2 separate regions of the Homo sapiens genome follow, and region 2 is linked to region 1. The links are contacts of gene promoters, found by promoter capture Hi-C in blood cells and fetal thymus (Javierre and others, 2016). All regions are on one chromosome and are shown on one strand. The core of a region is centred on a gene start or on the middle of the fragment in contact, and the rest is flanking DNA. Distances in the headings are between cores, read along the strand shown.

Region 1 (5,950 bases), core at 2,160-4,659:
CCTTTTCTCTACTCCAGGGATAATGATGTCTGAAAATCCAGGGTGGATCATTTAGACCTAGAATTCTACCCTTCTTCCCAAGGAGTGTGCACATCCTGGCAGCCTCTGGCCACTTGTTCCCCTTATTCTAGATTCCAGAGAGGTCACTATCCTTCAATAAGTAGGGCCTTTCTCTTTCCTCCTTTCCTTCTTTTCTTCCTTTCTTCTTTCCTTCCTTTCTTCCTTTCTTTCTTTCCTTCTTTCCTTCCTTTCTGTCTTTCTCTCTTTCTTTCTTTCTGATGGCGTCTTGCTCTGTTGCCCAGGCTGGAGTGCAGTGGCACAATCTTGGCTCACTGCGACCTCAACCTCCCGGGTTCAAGTGATTCTCCTGCCTCAGCCTCCTGAGTAGCTGGGATTACAGGCATGTGCCACTATGCCTGGCTCATTTTTGTATTTTTAGTAGAGACGGGGTTTCACCATGTTGGTCAGCCTGGTCTCGAACTCCTGACCTCATGATCCACCTGCCTCGGCCTCCCAAAGTGCTGGAATTACAGGTGTGAACCACCACGCCTGCCCAGGGCCTTTCTTTAATTGTTCAGGTCACAACACAACTGATGAGGTTATGGTTTTCTTTAGCTGTAACCTAGGCCCAAGGGAAAAGTCTCATCACCTTGATTTCAGTTCCTCTTTCATCATTTATGAGAGGCTGACATCTGAGTGGAGCACTTCTGCAGGTAGAATTCTAACTTTTTTCCCTGATTATTTCTCCAAAATTTTAGAGCACTTTATAGCAGTCATCAAACTGGAAACCTGAAGACTGAGATTTTAATACTTCAAGTGAAATCTGTATTTTATTCTGACTTTGATACCAACTGATTGTGTGAACTTCAATAAGACCTAGGGGTTCAGTTTCCCTCATTTGTAAAATTAAGCAAAAAGAGAAAAATCAGATGGAATCCAGTGATTATACATCATGATCTGAAAAAAGTCAACACAATTGTCCCTCAGTATCCACTAGGGATTGGTTCCAGGAGAAACTGCCGACACTAAAGTCCGTGGAGGTTCAAGTGTCTGATATAAAATAGTACAGTATTTGCATATAACCTATGCACATTCTTCTGTATACTTAATCATCACTAGATCACTTATAATACCTAATACAATGTAATTGCTATGGAAATAGCTGTTATACTGTATTGTTTAAGAAATAAGAGCAAGAAAAAGTCTGTACATGTTCAATACAGATGCAACCATCCATTTTTAAAGAAAAATATATTTTTGATTTGCAGTTGATTGAATCCAGGGATAAGGAACCCACAGATAATAGAAGGCCAACTCATCATTTTAATTTCAGTTTTTTCCTATACATATGTAATTATGATAAAGTGTAACTTATAAATTAGGCACAGTAAGATATTAACAACTAATAATAAAACATTTATAACAACATACAGACAGTCTTGACTTACAATTGTTTGACCAGATTTTTTGACTTCACGATGGGTTTATCGGTATATTAACTGCATGTTCAACTTACAACATTTTCAGTTTACGATGGCTTTGCGATGGCCATCACCCCATCATAAGTCAAGGAGAATCTATACTGTAATAGAAGCTATGTGAATGTGGTCTTTCTCTCAGAATATCTTACTGTACTGTGAAAGCAAAACCAGGGACAAAGTAGGGACTATGGTACATTTAGGATAGAAAGTTGTACTGAATATTTCACAAGTGAAAAATATACTCATTTTTCTTTGTGTTGACTTTCCAATGTGGATTTGGTACAAAAAAATAAAAACCCTCCTTACCAATTGCTGGCTGGGTGCAGTGGCTCACGCCTGTAATCCCAGCACTTTGGGAGGCCGAGGTGGGCAGATCACTTGAGGTCCGGAGTTCAAGACCAGCCTGGCCAGCATGGCGACACCTCGTCTCTACGTCTCTACTAAAAATACCAAAATTAGCCGGGCGCGTAGCCGGGCGTGGTGGCGGGCGCTTATAATCCCAGCTAGGAGGGAGGCTGAGGCAGGAGAATGGCTTAAACCCGGGAGGCGGAGGTTGCAGTGAGCTGAGATTGCACCACTGTCCTCCAGCCTGGGCGACAGAGCAAGACTGTCTCAAAACAAACACACAAACCCCTCATCAGTTGCAATATTTAAGTTGCATTTAATCCTAGCAATTGCAGTCCTGAGATTTGGATAAGAACCAGAGTATGGTCTTCCAGGGCAGCCAAACCAAGCCATTCCATGAACAACAGAGATCACCCTGCTGCAGATGGTCCACAGATCTTTTCTTGTGCATTTCTTCTGGGAACAAATGCAACTGAGGAAGCAGACATATTCTAGGGGGAGAGATCCACAAAAATCCTTAGAGTCATCTTGCCCCACCTCCTTGTTATGGCTTTAGGTACAGCCCTTATGGCTAGGAGATGTAACCTTCCTCAGCCTTTGCGTCTACGTCTACAAAATAACAACTACCTTGCAGGGTGTTATTTAACACTGCGAAAGTGCATTAATAGGCACAGAAAAACAAAAAACAAAAAAGCAAATTGTGCCCTCACTGCGAATTCTCTGTATTCTAGTTAAAAACATCTATAGCTTGGGTGCATGGTGTCCGTGCTGGGCAAGAAAAGGGCAAAATAGATCATGACAAGCCTTAACATTTTCTCACTTCAGTTTCCTCACTGCAATTGATTTTTTTTTTTCTTTCAAGTCGGAGTCTTGTTCTGTCGTCCAGGCTGGAGTGCACTGGTGTGATCTCGTCTCACCGCAACCTCCGCCTCCCAGGTTCAAGCGATTCTCCTGCCTCAGCCTACCGAGTAGCTGGGATTACAGGCGTACGCCACCACGCCCAGCTAATTTTTGTATTTTTAGTAGAGACGGGGTTTCACCGTGTTGGCCAGGCTGGTCTCGAACTCCTGACCTCGTGATCCACCCGCCTCGGTCTCCCAAAGCGTTGGGATTACAGGCGTGAACCATCGCGCGGCCCCTCACTGCAACTGAGGGTAGCGCAGTGGCCGCAAGTTCCAGATCTGGAGTTACTAAATAGCTGGGTTCCAATCCCGGCTCTGCCACTTATTAGCTGTACGATCTTCATTCGTTTCTCAACCTCTCTGGGTCTGAGATTCCCTTAAAGCCGGGGTAATAGAAATGAATAGGATTTCCTAACTAGGACTAGACTTTCTCAATTTCTTGACTCAGAGGGGCAAGGATAGCCTGAAATGGAAAGTGAAGGCCTTCAGGTTCTTCCTAACAGCCGCTCCGAGGAGGGGAAAGCTACAGGAAGAGGGAGGAGACCCAAGAAAGGTCGGACCAATGAGGCAGCGGGCGGGACAGGAGTTCCCGCCTTTGGGCGTCGTGCGCGCGCACCTCGCTCACACGCACACTCGCACGCACGCACGCTGCGGAAGCGCGCGCGCGCGCAGGCCCAGCCCTCGTCGCCGCCGCCATTTTAGCTGTTGGTTCCGGCCGCACCGTGTGGGCTGTAGTAGCGGGAGGGGTGGGGGTCCTCCAGAGTTAAGTGGCTGTCCTCGACTGTGCCCATACAGCAGCCAGCTTTCTTCCTTAATAACTGCCCGTTCGAAGAGTGCGAGGATGTCCAAGCGGCACCGGTTGGACCTAGGGGAGGATTACCCCTCTGGCAAGAAGCGTGCGGGGACCGATGGGTAAGCCAGGCCGGGGGCGCGAGGCGGCAGCTCGGGCTTTGTTGGGGTCCTGGCAGGGAGCGGGCCGGGGCTGGCCTGGCCGAGCGGGTCCTGGAGCCCGAGCCTTTGTTTCTCTCTGGGCTGGGTTCACTAGCGGCGGGTAGGAGAAGCGCGGCGCCCGTTCGGCCCGGCAAGGGCGCGGGGGGTTGCGTGCGACGGGGCCGCTGCCCAGCCCAGTCCGGAGGGTGGAGAGGCCTGCAGTAGCCATGAGGGCGCCTCCTCCCCCAGGCCGAACCGAGCGGGAGTCATTTGCGAGGGCGTCGGGCGGGAGTGAACCGCGGACCTCGTGGCCTCGGTTCCCGAGGAAGGCCTGGAGCCGGAGGAGAGGGTGGGGGAGGGCGCGGTGGGAGTATTCGCTTCCAAGGGCAGCAGGCACTTCCCAGCCAGAGGGGCCGTGGGGAGGGCCTGGGTGGGGGCGCGGCCAGGCACTCCAGACGGGAAAGGCGGAGGGCGGAAAGTGAGAGCAGCGCGTGGATCATAATGTAGGCTGGGATGGGGGTGGCGGGAGTTGAGAGAAGCCAGCAAATAGGGAGTTCTCGGGGGAGGTGGGAGTAGAGGACCTGCCGGGAGAAAGGAAAACGTGGAGTAATATACCTGATGGGCTGGAAGGCTGGTGTTTTGGGGCGACTGAGTTTATAGTTTGGCGGGAGAGAGCGTGCCTTGGTCCATTCAAACACTTCAAAGTAGATACTAGCAAACTTCCGCTCTCTGCCTACGCTCCCGCCATCTCCTGTATTTCCTGCTTTGGTTAAAACTGGTTACTGAACATCGTCCCATGGGGAGGGATTAGAAGGCATTGTTTTTTTTTTTCATCATTTATTTTCTATGCATGTCCCACTTTTCTTCATAAGTAGCTTTTGAAATACAGGGATCATGTTCAAAACGTGTTTTTAGTATTTATGGCGAAACACCGCCCATGTGGAGGTTGAGAGTTGAAATACTTACACAAACTCTTGGTGTTCCAGATTCCTTTCCTTAAAGGTACAGAGGAATTTAGCAGTTAATTTAAGCAATTTCGTGAAAATCATTTCTTGTCCCTTGTGTGTTTTCATTGATGAAGTACAAAGACCTGTTTGGATAATTCAGGCAAAACCCACAAAAGCCCGAGTAGCCAAATACTTTGCATAATTGTATCATTTTATTGTGTACTTGTGATACAGAATCACTGTGTCAAGTCACCTGTATAGCTGTTTTGAATTTTTCAGCTAAAGTTCTTCATTGAAATTGATTTCCAGGGATATGTTTAGTGTCATTGTAGAGTATAAGCCAGGATAGGGTGTACTTTTTGAGGCTTTGCCATATGTTGAATTATTCAATAGAAAGCAAAAGCATGTCACATTTTAATTTTGTGAGTTATTTAGTTTACGATATTAGGCATTGTAAAAAAGACAATGACATTGTAAGACAGACTCTCTTTAGGCTATCACCCTCCCCCACCATTACGCCCCACAAAACGTTAATACCTCTGAGCTGTATGTCACAGACTCAGAGCTGGAAGCAACTTAAAAAAGACTATACGCGGCTCCAATCAAGGAATGAGAAGTGGAGAACAGAGTTAAGGTGGCTTGTGCAAGTTTACAGCAGGATCTGGAACCCTGCCTTTGTCATTTTCACTCAGCAGCACACAGTTCAGTACTGTAGTTAAGAGTCATTACAGCCTATTTTAATGACATTTATAATGCGTTGGTAAAGTAGGGAACACTTAGTTCTTGATTTCTCTAAGGCAAAAATAAATTGCTGTCATCTGGAACTGATGTCTCTCACAGGAGGTCAGATTGGAACAAAATATTCTGGGAGGGAATGAATGAATTCATTTGTATTTGTGCATATGTGCACCATTTAAAATGTTCCCCTTGGGATTAGTGGTCCCACCATATGTATGTGCGATTGTTTACTTTCTCTTGCAAAAACAGATATCCTTAGTAAAAAGGTTGACTTTTGGAGTCTAATGGTAGCTTTATGATTCCCTTGTATATTATTTAGAATTTGCCTATGGATAAAGGAGAGTTCATCTTTGGAATAATGCCCAAGTTATAAGAAATAGTAGAGGGAAGTTTTTATACTCATTTCTATGTCATTTGAGTGCCATTTATCCTTGAACTGGTTTTATTTAACAGTGGACTTAAGGTGTTTATCGGCCTCAGAATTTTTTCATACTCGATAATTTTAAGTCACTTGTTGACTGCCATGCAATCCTGCAGATTTTTTTTTTCCCTGATAAGCAAGTGGTTTTATTGGAGAGCATAAGCTTGTCAGTCTTACAAACTCCAC
Region 2 (5,950 bases), core at 884-3,383, 9.6 Mb after region 1:
TGCAGGCTGCTGAAGGCGCCCGCGCCAAGCGCACCTCCGGGCAGGAGGTTACTGGGACTGTTGAGCAGAGGGTGGTTGGGGGACTCCATGGAGCCCGGCGCGGGGTTCACCGGCGTCGAGGAGGCCAAGCCCGCATTGGGGGACTCGGCGGCGCTGCCCTCGCCCGCGGCTGGGGTCTTGCGAGGGCTGCCCGCGCCTCCGTGGCGGCGCCGCGGGGCTGCAGGCGGCGAGGGAGGGAGCTGCGGGAGCGGGGGCAGGTCTGCCGGACGCTGCCGCGGGGCGAAGTCCTGCGGCGAGAGGTGCTGCTGATGCAGGAGGCTGAACTGCTGCGGCGGCTGTTGCTGCTGGCGCTGAGCGAGCTGCGCCGGCTGGAGGAGCGGGCCGGCTGGCGGCGGCGGCGGGCTGAACCGACCGGGGCAGTGGAGCGGCGGAGGCGGCGGCGGCGGCTTCGAGTCCGGAGGGTGGGGAAGGTGGGGAGGGCTGAACTCTTTCCTCTTCTGGCTGCTCAGCTGCTGCTGCTGCCGCTTACTGAAGTCCTGCGGGGAGGAGGTGCGGCAGCAGCAGCAGGAGGAGGCGGAGGAGGAGGAGGGGTGGTGCAGACTCGGTTTGAAGTCCTGGGAGGGGAGGAGGTGGGTCACACCCGCGATCGTGCCGCCGCCGGGGTGGTGGTCGGGGAGTTTCTCCGTGGCCGCCGCCCCCGAAAGCGGCCGCGCCGGCTGCTGTGTCAGCCCCAGAAGCAGCTCATCCTGCATGGTCTGCTGATGCGCCAGGAACGGGGAGGAAGAGGAAGCGGCGGCGGCCGGGCTGCCCGCGCCGCCGCCGAGGGGGACGGAGAAGGGGGAGGCGGCCTCTAAGAAGCCGGTGACAGGCAACGGTGGTGGCGACAGTGGGCCGAAGGGCGTGGCGGAGGGCAGCGGGTTGACGGACCCCACGGCGTAAGGACCATACGCCTCGCCGCAGAACAGGGGCCCAGGACTGCTACTTCGGAGCGGGGCGGTCTGCAGCACCCCAAACCCGAAATCCCTCATTTATCAGGCCGCCGGCAGCGGGAGGAGACGCTCCTCGTCCCCTGCCCCACCTAGGAAGCCGCCGGCGCTGGGGTTGCGCGGCCGTGGTGGAAGGAGGGGGAGTCAGTGAGAGAGGGACACCGTGACTGAGCCAGGGGGCACCGACTTCGGCCCCACCACCCCTCGCGGCGATCGCCGCCGCCGCCGCCGTCGCAGTCGCCGTAGCCGCCCTGGCCGCTTAAGAACCCCGGAACGTGCGTCAGCGCCACCTCACAATCGCGCCGCCCCCCGCGGTGCGTCCCGGCACGCGCGGGCGCGAGGCCACCGCGTCCCCGTCGCCCCTCCCCGCCCCTCATTACTATGCAGACGCAGCCGAGGGCGCGCTCGCGCTCCCGGGAGGGCGGGAGCGAGCGGCGTGTCCCGTTGGGTCTCTCCGCTCCCGGGGAAATGGACAGGCCGGTTGGGGTGGGGGTCGGCTGGCAAACAGTGGTCGGGAGCATTGGGCGGGCGCGCGCACGAGGGCAAGCACGCGCGGGAGGGAGGGACGGTTCCTGGGCAACGGCCCCTCCTTGGCGCGGGATCCGCGCAGAGTCTGCCTGGGTCGCACGCGTCTCCGCCCCTCGCGGTGCCTCCTCCTTCCTGTCACCTCGGTTCCGCCCTGGGTGGGGAGAAGCCCTGCTGCACCACTCGGGCTTCCCAGAGCGGGGCTGGCCCGCGGGGGAAACTGAGGCCCGGGACCCCGACCGGCGCCTGCACTGTGCGACCCGCGTAGAAATAGGCGCCCGAGGGGCCCCCAGCGCAACGCGGGAGCCCGGCCCAGCCCGGGGGTCCTGTGGTGAACTAGCGTCTGGGCTCTGCCGGCTTGAAGTCCGCTGAGCGCCTCGCCGCGCACCTCTAGACCCCGAGTCCCCGATCTAGGGCCTCCTTGTAGCCCTAGGTAGCGCCCTCTAAGCTTGTTTCTGTTTTTAGGCGCTGGTAGGAGTGCTGTCACCGACGTCGTAGAGCCGCCGAGGGTGTTTCTGTAGGGTAAACATGAAGCCTCGGCTATATTCCAGGCATTTTCACTTGGGTAAGAAGGAACAAAGTCCCTGGAACAAACACGCTCCGCGTGGTTATTTACACACTCGGATGCGTGGAACGGGTTCCACGGCGAGCTCCCATAGTAACCCCGGGCCAGCTCCGCTTCATAAAAGCCTTTCGTGTGCCATCAGGGCTGCAGCGTGGGACTCCTCCCCACCACATTCATTCCGGCGTCCCCGCCCCTTCCCCCCAGGGAGACTCTAATTTATTCCTAAGCTTTATGAATTTTCAAGGGAGAAATAGTTCTTACATCAGGGAAAAAAGGAGGTTCTGACTCAGCAGCAGACTTGTTGAGACTTGCAAAATGGAAGGGAGAGAGCTTTCCATGGTAGAGCTCTTTAGAAGCATTAGAGGAGGAACTAATCCTGTGTTTCCTTTTGTATAGAAACATTTTACATAAAGTATTTGAAGGTCTAGATAAAGAATAACAGAGTGATCCATACTACATGATGAGGTGAACTTTATGTTTCTGTTTTGTAATTTTAACTGTTTTGCTTGATGCTTAGAGAAATGAAACTATTAAATGAATCCTAGAATATAGACTCAAACCCCCAAAGCAATAGAAGGTGGATTCAGACTTTACTTGATTTTGGTTTACAAGTGAACTAAGATTAAATATTTAATTTTATAAATTAGCATACTCTTACTGATGTAGGCAGAGTGTACATTTTTATAAGTCCTCATTCTCTATTTGAATTCTACTTCTGTTCAGTGTCTCAAATTTATATAAATCGAAATAAACATGGTAGAAAGAGAGCAACATTGCCCCAGGGAACTATACTTCATGTATAATGTTTATCTCTGCTATCCTGTCCAATGAACCAAGTTTTATGTTGCCTTTACAATAAGGAAAAAGTACTTTTTAAAAAACTCAAATGGTTCAGAATTTGGTCAGGTGAATAGAAAATTGGTTCAACTTATTAATCTCAAAATCATTTTTAACAGTCAGGCAAAATGTAGAACTGGAGAAGTATTTTTATTCTAAATTACAATGTCTAGAAAATAACCTGAGCTCAGAATTTAAAATATAAATGGTTATTTTCAGAGTATATATTGACATATTAAATATTCATTTTTTAAAAGGTATTGTGCAGGAAAAAAAACTACTTCTGCAACTAAGGAATGTAAAGTCTTAACAACGGATGATTTTTTTCCAAGTACAGTTGTATTTGATTGGAATCATTTGCAGATCCAACAACAAATCTTGAAATAGGGGGAAAATACAGGTATAAACCTTAGCTCAATTATCCACTAACACCGCAGTTAGTAAAGAGGAGAGAGCACATACTTTTAAAAGCTAACTGGTGCCTTTCTGGGCTAGAGTTTTGAACAAAAACAAGATTTCTTAGTGCTCTGGTACTAGTTTTGTCTTAGAGGATTTAGAGCTCTCTGAAACGGGGAAAAGCCATCAAGTTTGTTATTACATAATAATGTCAAACTTCATATTAAATACACCAAATTCCAAATCCTGCCAGGGCCTCTACTCACTACTTTTGTGAGGGCCCCATTTTTTTAGAGCAGAAAGTTACTTTCTGACATCTTGTAAGCTGGTGATCTTGCCCTTATTGAAAATATTCAAATGAAAAGGTTTCCTAGGGTGGAGAGTGGAGTGGGGTAGGGAGAAGGAGCAGCAAATACTGAGGAGGGACTATGGTCCTCTAGCAGTTTCCATGCCAAGATCTTATGAGTCCATTCAATGATTTTTTTGGTTTTTTACATGAAAATATTTTGACTCATGATCATTAACTAGGACCTTGACTTTGTATTTGACAGTCCCTTATTCATTTACTCCCACTGTCCTGGGCAAGTATTTTTAAAAGTATTTTTGCTACAACCCAATATATGTGCAAGTACACACTCATGCAACTGAAATAAAGCTGCTATTAAGCAATTCTTTTAATAATGCAACAAACTCCTTTTTATAATTCTATTTTCATTTTAAAATCACGTTTGATCTCAAATTACAAAGTTGGTTTTAACACCCTCTATCAGATTATGAACTGAAAAACCACTGTCCTAGACCATTTCAAACATTCTGCTCAATCTGAAAACCTCTTGTCACATCTCTCCTACATGCATCTGCTAGCATGTAGCACTCTCAGCTGCTGAGCTACATGCTTATTTCACTGAGAAAAAAGAAGCAACCACAGGAAAACTTCCACAGTCTCCCTGCATCTGTCCCTGCACACCTTGCCTTCCCTCTCGATACAATGGATGGCCCATCTGCCCATACTCCTGTCTAAGGCCAGCCTCTCCACTGGCGGAGCAGATCCTACCTCTAACCTACTCAAGACATGGGCTCCAACAGTTTTCTCTCTCTGTCCTTCATCATGACCTCTTTCCTCTCCAGGAAACACTTCCATGTGCACAAAAACTTGCTTTACTAGTTCTCACCTTTGAAAAGTAAAGCCAAAACCTTTTGACCTTATATTCTCCCTCCTTTAGCTACTGCCTTCTTTTTCTGCTTTTACATTGCCTGAACGACTTGCCCATTTGACTGAGTGTCTCATAGATACCTCAAATTAAACACGTCAAAAATTAAACTCCCTGCCTCACTAGGCCCAATCCCTGTGGCGCTCCATTGTTCTGGTTGCTCAGGCCAAAAACCCTGGAGTCATTCTTCACTTCAATCCACTTCTGTCCTTCTTGCATCATATCCAAGCCATCAGAACATGTTGCTTGTCCTACCTTTAAATTACTGGCATAACCTAGAGATACCGTGGGTTTTGTTCCAGATTACCACAATAAAGCAAATATCCCAATAAAGCAAGTCACACCAATTTTTTGGTTTCCCAGTGCATGTAAAAGTTATGTTTACAGTATATTATACTCTAAACATAAGTTCTCAATTATAGTCTAAACATAACTTGTAATTACATTTAAATAAGTGCACAGTAGCATTATTCTGAAAAATATACACACATTAATTTAAAAATACTGCTAAAAAGTGCTAATGATCATCTGAGCCTTCAGTAAGTCATAATCTTTTTGTCAGTGGAGAGTCTTGTCTCGACATTCATGGCTGCTGACTGATCAGCATGGTGGTGGCTGAAGGCGGAGGTGGTTGTGGCAATTTCTTAAGACAAAGATAGAGTTTGTCACATAAATTGAATCTCCCTTTCATGAAAGATTTCTCTGTACCATGCAATGCTGTTTGATAGCATTTTGTCCACAGAACTTCTTTCAAAATTAGTCAGTCCTCTCAAAACCTGCTAATGCTTTATCATCTAAATTTATGTAATATTCTAAATCTTTTTTGTCATTTCAGCAGTGTTCATAGCATCTTCATGAGGAGTAGATTCCGTCTCAAGAAACCACTTTCTTTGCTTATCCATGAGCAGCAACTCCTTCTCCATTCAAGTTTTATTGTAATATTGCAGCAATTCAGTCACATCCTCAGGCTCCACTTCTAATTCTAGTTCTCTTGCTATTTTTACTACATCTGCAGTAACTTCCTTCACTGAAGTCTTGAACCCCTCGAAGTCATCCAAGAGGGTTGGAATCAGCTTCTTCCAAACTCCAGTTAATGTTGACACTTTGACCTCCCATGAGTCACACATATTCTGAATGGCAGCTAGAATGGTGAATCCCTTCCAGAAGGTTTTCAATTTGCTTTGCCCTTATCCATCAGAGAAATCACTATGGCAGCTATAGCCTTATGAAATTTATTTCTAAAATAATACTTGAGGCTGTCCTGGTGACAACTTAGTGATTTTAAATTTTAAAATGAAAATAGAATTATAAAGAGGAGTTAGTTGCATTATTAGAAGAATTGCTTAATAGCAGCTTTATTTCAAAACAATCTCAGCACTTTGGGAGGCCAAGGCGGGCAGGTCACTTGAGGTCAGGAGTTCAAGACCAGC

The links. The method cuts DNA at HindIII sites, captures the fragments that hold promoters and counts their contacts. A CHiCAGO score of 5 or more calls a contact.
Region 2: a contact is called between a fragment that was not itself captured here and the fragment with the promoter of DHX15 in region 1, in 1 of 17 cell types (non-activated CD4 T cells). The highest score is 7.8, in non-activated CD4 T cells.

What each region holds. Positions count from the first base shown.
Region 1 is chr4:24,582,013-24,587,962 of GRCh38, reverse strand. DHX15 (DEAH-box helicase 15) reads left to right here and starts at 3,409. Exons shown (of 14, transcript NM_001358.3): 1 at 3,409-3,640. The coding sequence starts at 3,570. RefSeq lists an enhancer at 2,971-3,510 and silencers at 3,691-3,810, 3,821-3,900, 4,101-4,150. The HindIII fragment of the contact is 7,218 bases long and covers 1-5,929 here.
Region 2 is chr4:14,997,752-15,003,701 of GRCh38, reverse strand. It overlaps CPEB2 (cytoplasmic polyadenylation element binding protein 2), which reads right to left and starts at 1,221. Exons shown (of 12, transcript NM_001177382.2): 1 at 1-1,221. The coding sequence starts at 1,028. It overlaps CPEB2-DT (CPEB2 divergent transcript), which reads left to right and starts at 1,657. Exons shown (of 8, transcript NR_038857.1): 1 at 1,657-1,764; 2 at 1,977-2,076; 3 at 2,473-2,541. RefSeq lists silencers at 73-222, 273-582, 1,083-1,942 and an enhancer at 2,183-2,232. The HindIII fragment of the contact is 344 bases long and covers 1,962-2,305 here.